Linked DNA regions of Homo sapiens: region 2 is linked to region 1. The links are contacts of gene promoters, found by promoter capture Hi-C in blood cells and fetal thymus (Javierre and others, 2016). All regions are on one chromosome and are shown on one strand. The core of a region is centred on a gene start or on the middle of the fragment in contact, and the rest is flanking DNA. Distances in the headings are between cores, read along the strand shown.

What was found. The method cuts DNA at HindIII sites, captures the fragments that hold promoters and counts their contacts. A CHiCAGO score of 5 or more calls a contact.
Region 2: a fragment that was not itself captured here is called in contact with the fragment with the promoter of FAM99B in region 1 in 7 of 17 cell types (naive CD4 T cells, fetal thymus, total CD4 T cells and 4 more); the score reaches 7.0 in naive CD4 T cells.

What each region holds. Positions count from the first base shown.
Region 1 is chr11:1,683,338-1,688,234 of GRCh38, forward strand. It overlaps FAM99B (family with sequence similarity 99 member B), which reads right to left and starts at 2,292. Exons shown (of 3, transcript NR_026642.1): 1 at 2,101-2,292; 2 at 857-965; 3 at 1-697. LINC02708 (long intergenic non-protein coding RNA 2708) reads left to right here and starts at 4,293. Exons shown (of 3, transcript NR_187232.1): 1 at 4,293-4,617; 2 at 4,728-4,897. RefSeq lists an enhancer at 1,628-2,397. The HindIII fragment of the contact is 16,209 bases long and covers 1-4,897 here.
Region 2 is chr11:1,816,543-1,821,439 of GRCh38, forward strand. No RefSeq gene overlaps it. Among named protein-coding and RNA genes, the nearest start is that of SYT8, 16 kb to the right of the region's middle. The HindIII fragment of the contact is 3,378 bases long and covers 837-4,214 here.

The DNA.
Region 1 (4,897 bases), core at 1,042-3,541:
CCAGATGGAGGGGCAGACACCGGCACCCGCTGCCTACGTCACCGCCCTCAGTGCTGCCCACAAGCGGGTGCCCCACTGGGTCCCGCCACCCCAAATCCCAGTGCCGGAGCGGGGCCCGGCTCTGCCACCCGCTGCCACCCGGTGTGGCACCCAGGCCCTGCTGGCACAAGGCCACGGCTAATCTGCTCTCAGAGGAAGCTGAGGAGGTGAGGAGGCAGCCCTGCCCTCGGTGTTTCCCAAGCCCCCTTATCCCAGCAGATTCTTCTCGGGGAAGATAAGCTCCCAGCTTAGCCAGGGCGGGTGGGAAGTCAGAGCTGCTTCCTTAATTGGCATTTTCCAGTTGAGAGCACATTCTCTACCTTTTTCACTTGGATCAGCTAATTGCCAAATGTTTTCATTTTTGAGAAGAAGTAAAATTGCAGAGATTTGGGATTTAGGGAAGGAATGCAAGGATCAATTTTGCCTAATTACGAAATGTCTCGGCGGTCACTGTGACGGGTCCCAGAGTCGGCCGTGTGGACCCCGGGGCCTCCCGGGCGGTGGGGGGCCGGGGGCTCTGATGCAGATGTTTACCTGATGTCGTGGGCCTGAATCTGGTTTACATTGGAAATCAGACTGTTTACAGGCCAGCACATCTGCCTCTTCCTCTGGCTCTCCTTCATTCTGCTGTAATGTTCTGCAGGTCTCGCTGGGGTCTCTGTGGGAATATCTGTGACACGGAGTGAGCCAGGCCAGCCCGGGGCGGCCCCATCCGGGGACAGCAGCTCACGGCCTGGCCCCGCGTGCGCAGCCGGGGCCTGGGTTGGCGGTGGAGATGGGGAGGGTCTGGGGGCCCCTGGGTGGGTGGTGGGGGTACCGTCAGCCCGGCTGCAGGGTTCCAGCGGAGGACAGGGAGCCTTCTCCATCCCTGAAAACCATCGCGGGGACAGTGGACTCATCAGGATGCCGGGACCCTCTAGTGTGTTCTGGAAGCAGAGGCTGGGTGTGGGCACGGGAACCTGTGATTGTCCCCAGACACCGAGAGGCCCACAGGACCCCCAGTGCCCAGACCCCGGCTGCAGATCGGGGGGTCCAGTCATGTGTCGGGGAAGGAGGAGGGGAGCAGGGGCCACAGACAGGGGGTCCAGGAGGGCAGGGGGTCCAGGAGGGCAGAGGACCCAGGACAGCAAAGGGTCCGGGAGGGCAGAGGATCCAGGAGGACAGGGGGTCCAGGAGGGCAGGGGGTCCAGGAGGGCCCAGGAGGGCAGGGGGTCCAGGAGGACAGGGGGTCCTGGAGGGCAGGGGGTCCAGGAGGGCAGGGGGTCCAGGAGGGCAGAGGGTCCAGGAGGGCAGAGGGTCCAGGAGGGCCCAGGAGGGCAGGGGGTCCAGGAGGACAGGGGGTCCTGGAGGGCAGGGGGTCCAGGAGGGCAGGGGGTCCAGGAGGGCAGAGGGTCCAGGAGGGCCCAGGAGGGCAGGGGGTCCAGGAGGACAGGGGGTCCTGGAGGGCAGGGGGTCCCGGAGGGCAGAGGGTCCTGGAGGGCAGGGGGTCCCGGAGGGCAGAGGGTCCTGGAGGGCAGGGGGTCCAGGAGGGCAGGGGGTCCAGGAGGGCAGAGGGTCCTGGAGGGCAGGGGGTCCAGGAGGGCAGGGGGTCCAGGAGGGCCCAGGAGGGAAGGGGGTCCAGGAGGACAGGGGGTCCAGGAGGGCAGAGCCACAGCAGGCTGGGTGCTGCTGCTACAGGGGGCTTCACCCCAGCAGCCCCCTGCACTGCCCCTCTGACAGCCTCCACCTTTGACCCCCCAGAACAATGGGCTGCTGTGGCGGCTCTGGAGGCTGCGGCCCCAGTCATGGGGCCTGCGGCTGCCATGGGCTGAGACCCTGCTGCTCTTCGTGGAGACACTGATGTCCTTACCAGATCTCCCGGGCCCGCCCTCAGCCTCCAGGCTGACCAGGCTTCCTGGGCCTCCTAGGACACAGCCCTGGGTCTCCTCCTCTAGGATACTGGATGGGAATCTGCGGCTTCCAACATCCACCTGCCCGCCTTCCCCTCTGCCCTGTCCCCTTGCTGCCATGGCCGCCTTTGTCCTCCCTGGAGATTCAGAGAGCAGCCCCGTTCTCAGTTACCTGGCCTTCTGGGTCCTTGGGAGGTTCTGACCTCTTCCCAGCAGGGGCCCTGGGGGCTGCGTCCTGCCTGGTCCAGGCCTTCTCACCCTCACCTCCCTCTGGGCTCAGGGAGCTGGGGCCACACAGCCCAGAGAGGCTGGTCTGCCCAGGACAGGCCACCCTCCTCCTGCTCCCAGGAGTGCCTGCAGCCCTGTCAGTTTCCAAGAGTGTCTCCTTCAAGCAGCCTCGTCAGGTCGAGCCACCCCCAGTGCCCTCTCTCCTCTGGCAGCCGCGCTCCCTGCCCTTCCTCCCCACCTGCTCAGTCCTGCAAAGCCTCCTGCCTAGCTGGACACCTGGGGGTTCTGTATCCCACACTCCAGGGGCCTCCTTCACATGTCGGTGACCTCTGACACTCCAGGGGCCTCCTTCACATGTCGGTGACCTCTGACCGCTGTTTCAGACCCACAGCTCCTGGGTGCACTCAGCCTTGGGTCCCGATGGCACCAGAGTGTTCCACGCCTGGGGCAGCGCACTCATTGCAGATCTGGCCTGAGACTCAGCAGCCGGGCACCCCATGAGATCTACTTTCTGAATGGCGTCGTCACCTGACTGGGCATACAGGCCACGGACCCCATGGTCATTTGGGCACTGACCCCTCTCACACCCCCCAAATCCCACCTGAGAGCAGCCCATCAGGCAGGCCCCATATATTGGATGCCTCTAAGTATCAGCCTTGATGTCCCTCTAATTCCAGCCCTGGTGTCTTCTCCCTGGGACACCCTGCTGCTCCCTCTAGCTGTGCCCTCCACGGTGACTCCAGACATGCGGATTCAGCCTCTTCGCTCCAGGACCAAACTCCTCAGCAGCTCCCACTACTCCCAGCATGCCATCCAGCTCCTCAGCCCAGCAGCAAAGACAGGCACAGAATGGCTCCCGAACCCATCGCTCCGGTCCGGAGAAGGAGCCCTCCACCCTCCACGCTCCATTCGCTGTCCCCTTGCGGGCCCCTGTGAGGAACCCCAGCCAGAGGCACCAATGGCCGCCACTGACTTTCACCCTGTCCTGAATCACAGGACCAAGGAGGCTGCCCCGACAAGGGTCGCTTCCAGACTCACTCCCTGTCAGCCACTGCCACATGCCTGCCGTGGGCAGCATTGGAGGACAGGGGGTACTCTGTCAGTCAGCCTAACAGGCTGGTCCGTCCTTCCTTCCTTCCTTCCTTCTTCCCTCCCTCACTTCCTTCCTTCTTCCCTCCCTGCCTCCCTCCCTTCCTTCTCTGCTCCCTCCCTCCCTCCTCCCTCCCCCTCCTTCCCTGCCTCCCTCCTCCCTCCTTCTCTGCCTCCTTCCTCCCCCTTCCCTTCCTTCCTTCCTTCTCTGCTCCCCCCCTCCCTCTTTCCCTCCCTCCCTCTTTCCCTCCCTTCCTCCTCCCTCCTCCTCCCTCCCTCCCTTCCTTCCTTCTTTCTTTCCTTCCTTCCTTCCTGCTTCTCTCCCTTCCTCCCTCCCTCACTTCCTTCCTTCCTTCTTCCCTCCCTGCCTCCCTCCCTTCCTTCTCTGCTCCCTCCCTCCCCCCTTCCCTGCCTCCCTCTTCCCTCCTTCTTTGCCTCCTCCCTCCCCCTTCCCTTCCTTCCTTCCTTCTCTGCTACCTCCCTCCCTCCTCCCTCCCCCCTCCCTTCCTTCCTTCCTCTCTGGTCAAATGCGGGTACATGAGAGTTCCCACCATCCCCATGGTAAGTGCACAGTTCCGTGGCATTGGGAACCTGCACGTGGCTGTGCCACTGTCGCCACCATGCAGCTCCAGCACCTTTTCATCGCGCGAAACTGGAGCTCCGTCCTGACTAATCACTCACTCCCATCGGCCTCTGTCACTGGCCCTGCTGACTACCATTCTGCCATCTTCCTCTTGAATCTGACTCCTCTGGGGGCCTTCCATCTGTGGGGTCACAGCATTGGTCCTATTGTGACTGGCTGGCTTCACTCGGCACGAGGCTGTGAAGGTTGGTGGCGTTGCTGCAGGCGTCAGAGCACACTCCTTTTCCAGGCTCCGTAAGACCCCGATGTGTTTGTCTACCCCATTTCAGATCCCCTCACCTGCTGGGTTGTTTCCACCTTTGGGCTATTGTGACTGCACGGCTGTGAGCATGGGTGTCTGAGTCCATTCTGTGTAGCCATAAAAGAACCTCTGTGATGGGGTAATTCATCAAGCTCACAGTTCTGCTGGCTGAGAAGTTCAATGGCATGGCCCTGGCTTCTGCTGGAGGAGGTCAAAGGGGAAGCAGACACGGGAAGAGAGATAAAGCTCAGGGATGTCTTGGCTTCAGAACAAGCCCCACTCATGGGAACAAATCCATTCCCATGGGAACTCACCCTGTATCACAAGAGGAGAATCACTCCCAGCACCACGGACTCCCCAGGGAGTCACTCCCACGACCCACACGTCTCCCTCCCCTCAGGCCCCACCTCCCTACGCTGCCACACTGGGGGTCCCGTTTCAACAAGAGTTTTGCTGGGAACAGATGCACTGACTACATCCAGGTCGTGGTAAGGGCTGTGCAAGTATTTGAGTCCCTGCTTTGATTTCTTTTGGGGATAGACCTAGGAATGGAATGGCGGCTTCGCAGGGTAATTTTGTGTTTACCTGTTTCTGGAAGGAGCACACTGAGCTGGCCAGAGCAGGCTTGTGTTTTCCTCTGTGCTCCTTCCTGCTTCCCAGGATGCAGATGAGATGGCAGGTGCCCCAGCAGCCCTCGCCAACCATAAGGCATGGATTCCTCACCTTCGGCTCGGGGAGCACAGAGACTGAGGGCCGTGGACTCGGGGT
Region 2 (4,897 bases), core at 1,276-3,775, 130 kb after region 1:
AGCAACCTGCCTGTGCCCTGTAGTTTTTTCAGTCATAAAACAGTTCACATAAAACAGTTCACAGTCATAAAACGGTTCAGATAAACGTATGCACTCCAAGAAGTCAAGAAAGAAACTTAAAATCCTGTAGGTAAATTAGAAATATCAGTATGATTCCATGATATATTTACCTTTAAAAATATATATTTCCAGCTGGGCCACAGTGGCTCACTCCTGTAATCCCAGCACTTTGAGACGCCTAGGCGGGTGGATCACTTGAGGTCAGGGGTTCAAGACTAGCCTGGCCAACATGGTGAAACTCTGTCTCTACTAAAAATACAAACATTAGTTGGGCATGGTGGTGCATGCCTGTAATCCCAGCTACTCAGGAGGCTGAGGCAGGAGAATTGCTTGAACCCAGGAGGTGGAGGTTGTAGTGAGCTGGGATCATGCCACTGCACTCCAGCCTGGGTGACAGAGCAAGACTTTATCTTAAAAAAACAAAACAAAAAAAAGTTATTTCCTAAGCCAGTCAAAAAAAGAAAAAAGAAAAGACAAATACTGTATGATTCTATTTGTATGAGGTCCCTAGAGTAGTCAAATTTATAGTGACAGAAAGTAGGATGGCGAGTGCCAGGGGCTGGGGGAGGTGGAGGGGGAGTTGGATTTAATGGGAGCAGAGCTGCTGCTTTTCGAGACAAAAGGCATTCTGGAGCTGGATAGTGGGATGACAGCAGCGCGAATGTACTGAATGCCACGGAACTGTGCACTTAGAAGATGGTAAATTTTGTTACACATATTTTACCACCATACAAAAACTGGAAAAATAGGTCTTGCCTAATTCTGTCCACAGTAAAAGCTTAGAAACAATGAAAATAGACTAGTAGCAATGAGCACCCTGGCACCCAAAGTGGGACCTCTAAATACCCACCAAACTCCCTTCAAAAAGAACCGTGAACCCTTGGAGAAATGACTGGTTCTGGGCTGAGCCATGACATAGCCATGACATAAGATAAACCTGGAACTTCTCATTGCATCAGAAAGCTAAGAAACAATCAAAGACTACTGAGGTCATTTCAAGATGACATACCAGTCAACTTAAATGTATCCCCATTGACCAAATGTGGGACCACATGGTCACCAGTAAAGACAATAAGTTCAATGAATGGAAGGGCATTGTGTCAGGCACACCCTAATGCGGCCTCCAGTGAGTAATGGCCTTATTTAATCCCCTGCCCTGAGGCAGGGCAGAATCTGTGATTTTTCTTTGACTGAGAGATTAAAGCAAAAGTGAAGAGACTTTGCAGATATAATTAAGTTCCTAACCAGTTGACTTTGAGTTAATCAAAAGGAGATTTTTCTCAGTGGTCCTGACTTAACAGGCAAGCCCTTTGTAAGAGAGTCTAGGGCTTCTCTGAAGTTAGAGACTCGAAGGGGCAGAGACCCTCTCTCTCTGTTGCTGGCTTTGAAGGAGGAAGCTGCCATGAATTCTGCAACTTCATGGAAATAAGTTCTGCCAAAACCTAAATGAGCCTGGAAGCTGCTCCCTCCCTAGTTGGGTCTCCAGATGAGAACACAGCCTGGCTGACAGCTTGATCTCAAGCTAGTGAGACCCTGAGTGAGGAATCTGGCTAAGCTATACCAGGACATCTGGCATACAGAAGTGCATATACTAAATGGGAGCTTTATGTTTGTGGCAATTTGTTCCACAGCCATTGAGAATTACTGCACACATTCAATACAGTACATTTAAGTAATATACTTCAATTTATGATTTCACAATAATATATATTTAAAATAATCAATATTTTTCTCTGCCTTCCCTGTACCAAATATTTGATGTGGGAAAGTGTATCTTTAGAAGAACTCTTGCAAATAAATGCTGAAGAAATACCAAGTTTAGAAAATTGCAATTTTGCAACCCCTAATGAAATGATGGATCTAGGGCAGTGGTCCTCAACTGGGGGCAGTTTTGCCCCTCTGGCAATATCTACAGGTATTTTTGATTGTTGTAACTGAGAGTTGCTGTAGGGATCAGGGATGCTGACAAATATCCTAAAGTGCACAGGACAGCCCCACAGCAAACATTATCTGGCTGGGTTAGAAAGACCCTAAGGTGAACCACAGTGATTTCTGCTTCCTGTTGGCTGTGCTTCTGTGTTGTCCCCTCTCCTTGAAAGTGTTAACCAACAGAATATGGCAAAGGTGGTAGATGTCACACCTGGGATTATATTATAGTATATAATATTCTGGAGTCACTCTCTCTGTCTCCTGCTGGCCTTGAAGAAGCAAGAGCCATGTGTGAACTGCCTTTGAGGGGCCCACAAGACTGGGAACTATGGGTGGCCTGCAGGAAGTGAGGACCTCAGTGCTACAACCACAAGGACCTGAATTCTACCAACAAGCTAAGTGAATGCAAAGCAGGCCCTGTCCCAGTTGGACCTTCAGATGAGAATGCAGCCCCAGCTGACACCATGGGATCCTGAGGTAGAGAACCCAGCTAAGTTGTGCCCCAGGCTTCTACCCACAAAAACTGTGAGATAAGAAACATGTGTTGTTCTAAGCCACTAAGTTTGTGGCAATTTGTTCCACACCATAGAAAACTAACAGCCTGGCCCCAAATGCCCACAATGCCAAGACTGAGAAACCTAACTTAGGGCTTGTTGTTGTGGTTGTTTTCTACAAGGGCTGAGTTGCAAACACATCTGTCTTTGCAGGCCATTTGCTCTCTGTCATTGTGTCTGTTTTTTATCACTGTGTAATAAATCACCACAAACCCAGCTGTGAAACAAATCCTGTGCATCCTGTGGAACAGAGCTCTGGGCATTCCTGTAGGGCTTTTTCCTTAGGTCCTCACTGGCTGAGAGCAGATGCCAGCCAGGCTGGGCTCCTCTCTGGAGGTGCTGGGGAAGACTCCACTCTCGGGGCATTCACGGTGTGGACACAATTCGGTTCTTGTGTTTGTAGGTCCCCATCTTCCTGCTGGCTGTAGGCAGGGTGACTCTCTGCAGGAGGTCGTGCTCAGTCCTTTCCCCTGGTTCATGGAGAGCCTTCCTCGAGGAGAATCACTGTGAATCCCTCTCAATTTCTCTCCTACCACCAGCTGGGGGGTAAAAAAAACAACCCAAACTCTGCTTTTACAGGGCTCATGGGATTCAACCAGGCCCACCGTGATCCTCTCTCTATTTTAAAGTCAACTCATCAGCAGCCTAAACTTTATCCGCAAAATGCCTTTTGCCAGACAACATAACACACTCACAAGGGTGAGAATTATTCACAATTCTGGGAATCACGGCACAAAGTCTGGGGGGACCTTCTTGGAATCACCACAGCCATGGTACCATGAAAGCAGTCACAGATGGTACATAAGTGAATGAGTGGGGGCCATGTTCCAATAAAACTTTATTTACAAAAACAGATGGGGAATAAGATTTGGCCGGGGGCGACTGTAGTTTGCTGACCCCTGTTCTAGGAAATGTCACCAGCAGCTGCTAAAACCATGAAAAGAAAAGCCACTGGGCACTTAGTGGCTTATGGCTGTAGCTGGCTACACCCAAACCTACTCACTGATCAGCCCCATATCCCAGGAGGAAGTTCCAGGACATCCAGTGCCTCCCGCCATGCACAAAGGAAGTGCCATCTCCCTCCATGAAGCGGCCTTGCCAAAAGGCTTGACCTTACACTGATCAGGCCTCAGCACTATAGAGTAAGGAAAGACACCTGAAACGCTGTGTTGCGACTTGTGAAACCCAGAATGTTGGGAACTCCTTAGGATGAGCGCCCTTGCTTCTTCAACAAATAAGTGGCAAGAATGAAAAGACAGAGGCACTAATTGATCAAAGGGGGCTCCAGAGGCGCAGGAGCAAGATGGCACATGAGTTCCATGTGGGGTGACTTGAAGACACCATCCGTAAGATCCATTGATGAGACAATGGGGGAAATTTGAGCCCTGTCCAGGTTTGATCATATTTAAGAATTACTGGTATTTGTTTAGCTGTGAAAATGGATTTTTGAAAAAGCGTTCTTATCTTTTGGGAACATGAGAAGAGAGACAGAGGCCCACTGCGGCTTGCTATAATAAAAGGAATCTAGAGAGGGTGTTGCAGGGTGGGAGGCACTGGCTGGCTGTTTGGCGGTACTCATGGAATCTAAGGAAGCCTTGGAATGTTTCTGTGTGTGTGTAAAATTCTCCCAATAGAGGGTTTGGGAATAATCTGCCTTCAGACTACAAGGCAAGCTTCAAACGGAAAGGCCCAGGGGCCAGGGGAGCCCCTCAGAGCTGTGGGTACCTGGCTTTCTCTCCACCAAGCACTCCAGGTAAACATGGGTTGTGACTTGTTACGGAGAAATTGCCCCTGGGCATTTGTGAGTCAGGGATGCTGTGTGCCAGAGTGTGGCCAGCAGCAGCTTTTAGGACTCCTTCCCTCCATGTGGCCCTGGGGGCCACTGTTCAAGTTCCCAAGGGACAACCCAGCTTCCCTCCACCTTGGCCTTGGCAGCTGAACGCCTAATTCCTGAGAAGCCTAAAATCACCCAGGGACCGCCCAGTGGGTCTTAAAAGTTTGCTCCTGCACCATCCTACTCACTCAGCACAGCTACAAGCTGCAACAGATATTCGGTACATAGGAGCTTGAGAACAACGGGGCCACACCTACAATGCGGCAGCTTACGAATCGCGCCAGACCCAGCAAGCCAGGATGACAGCCACTGACTATTACCATGAGAATCTTGGGGCCTGCGTGTCCAGCACCACCTCCATGACTGCATAAAGTCATACATGGGAGGGAGGGAGGAGAAGAAGGAGGGAGAGAAGGCAAAATGGAGTAGGTGGATGGATGGATGGATGGATGGATGCTTGGGTTGATGAATGGTTGGGTGGATGGATTGGTGAATGGATGAGTGGGTGAGTGAGCGGGTA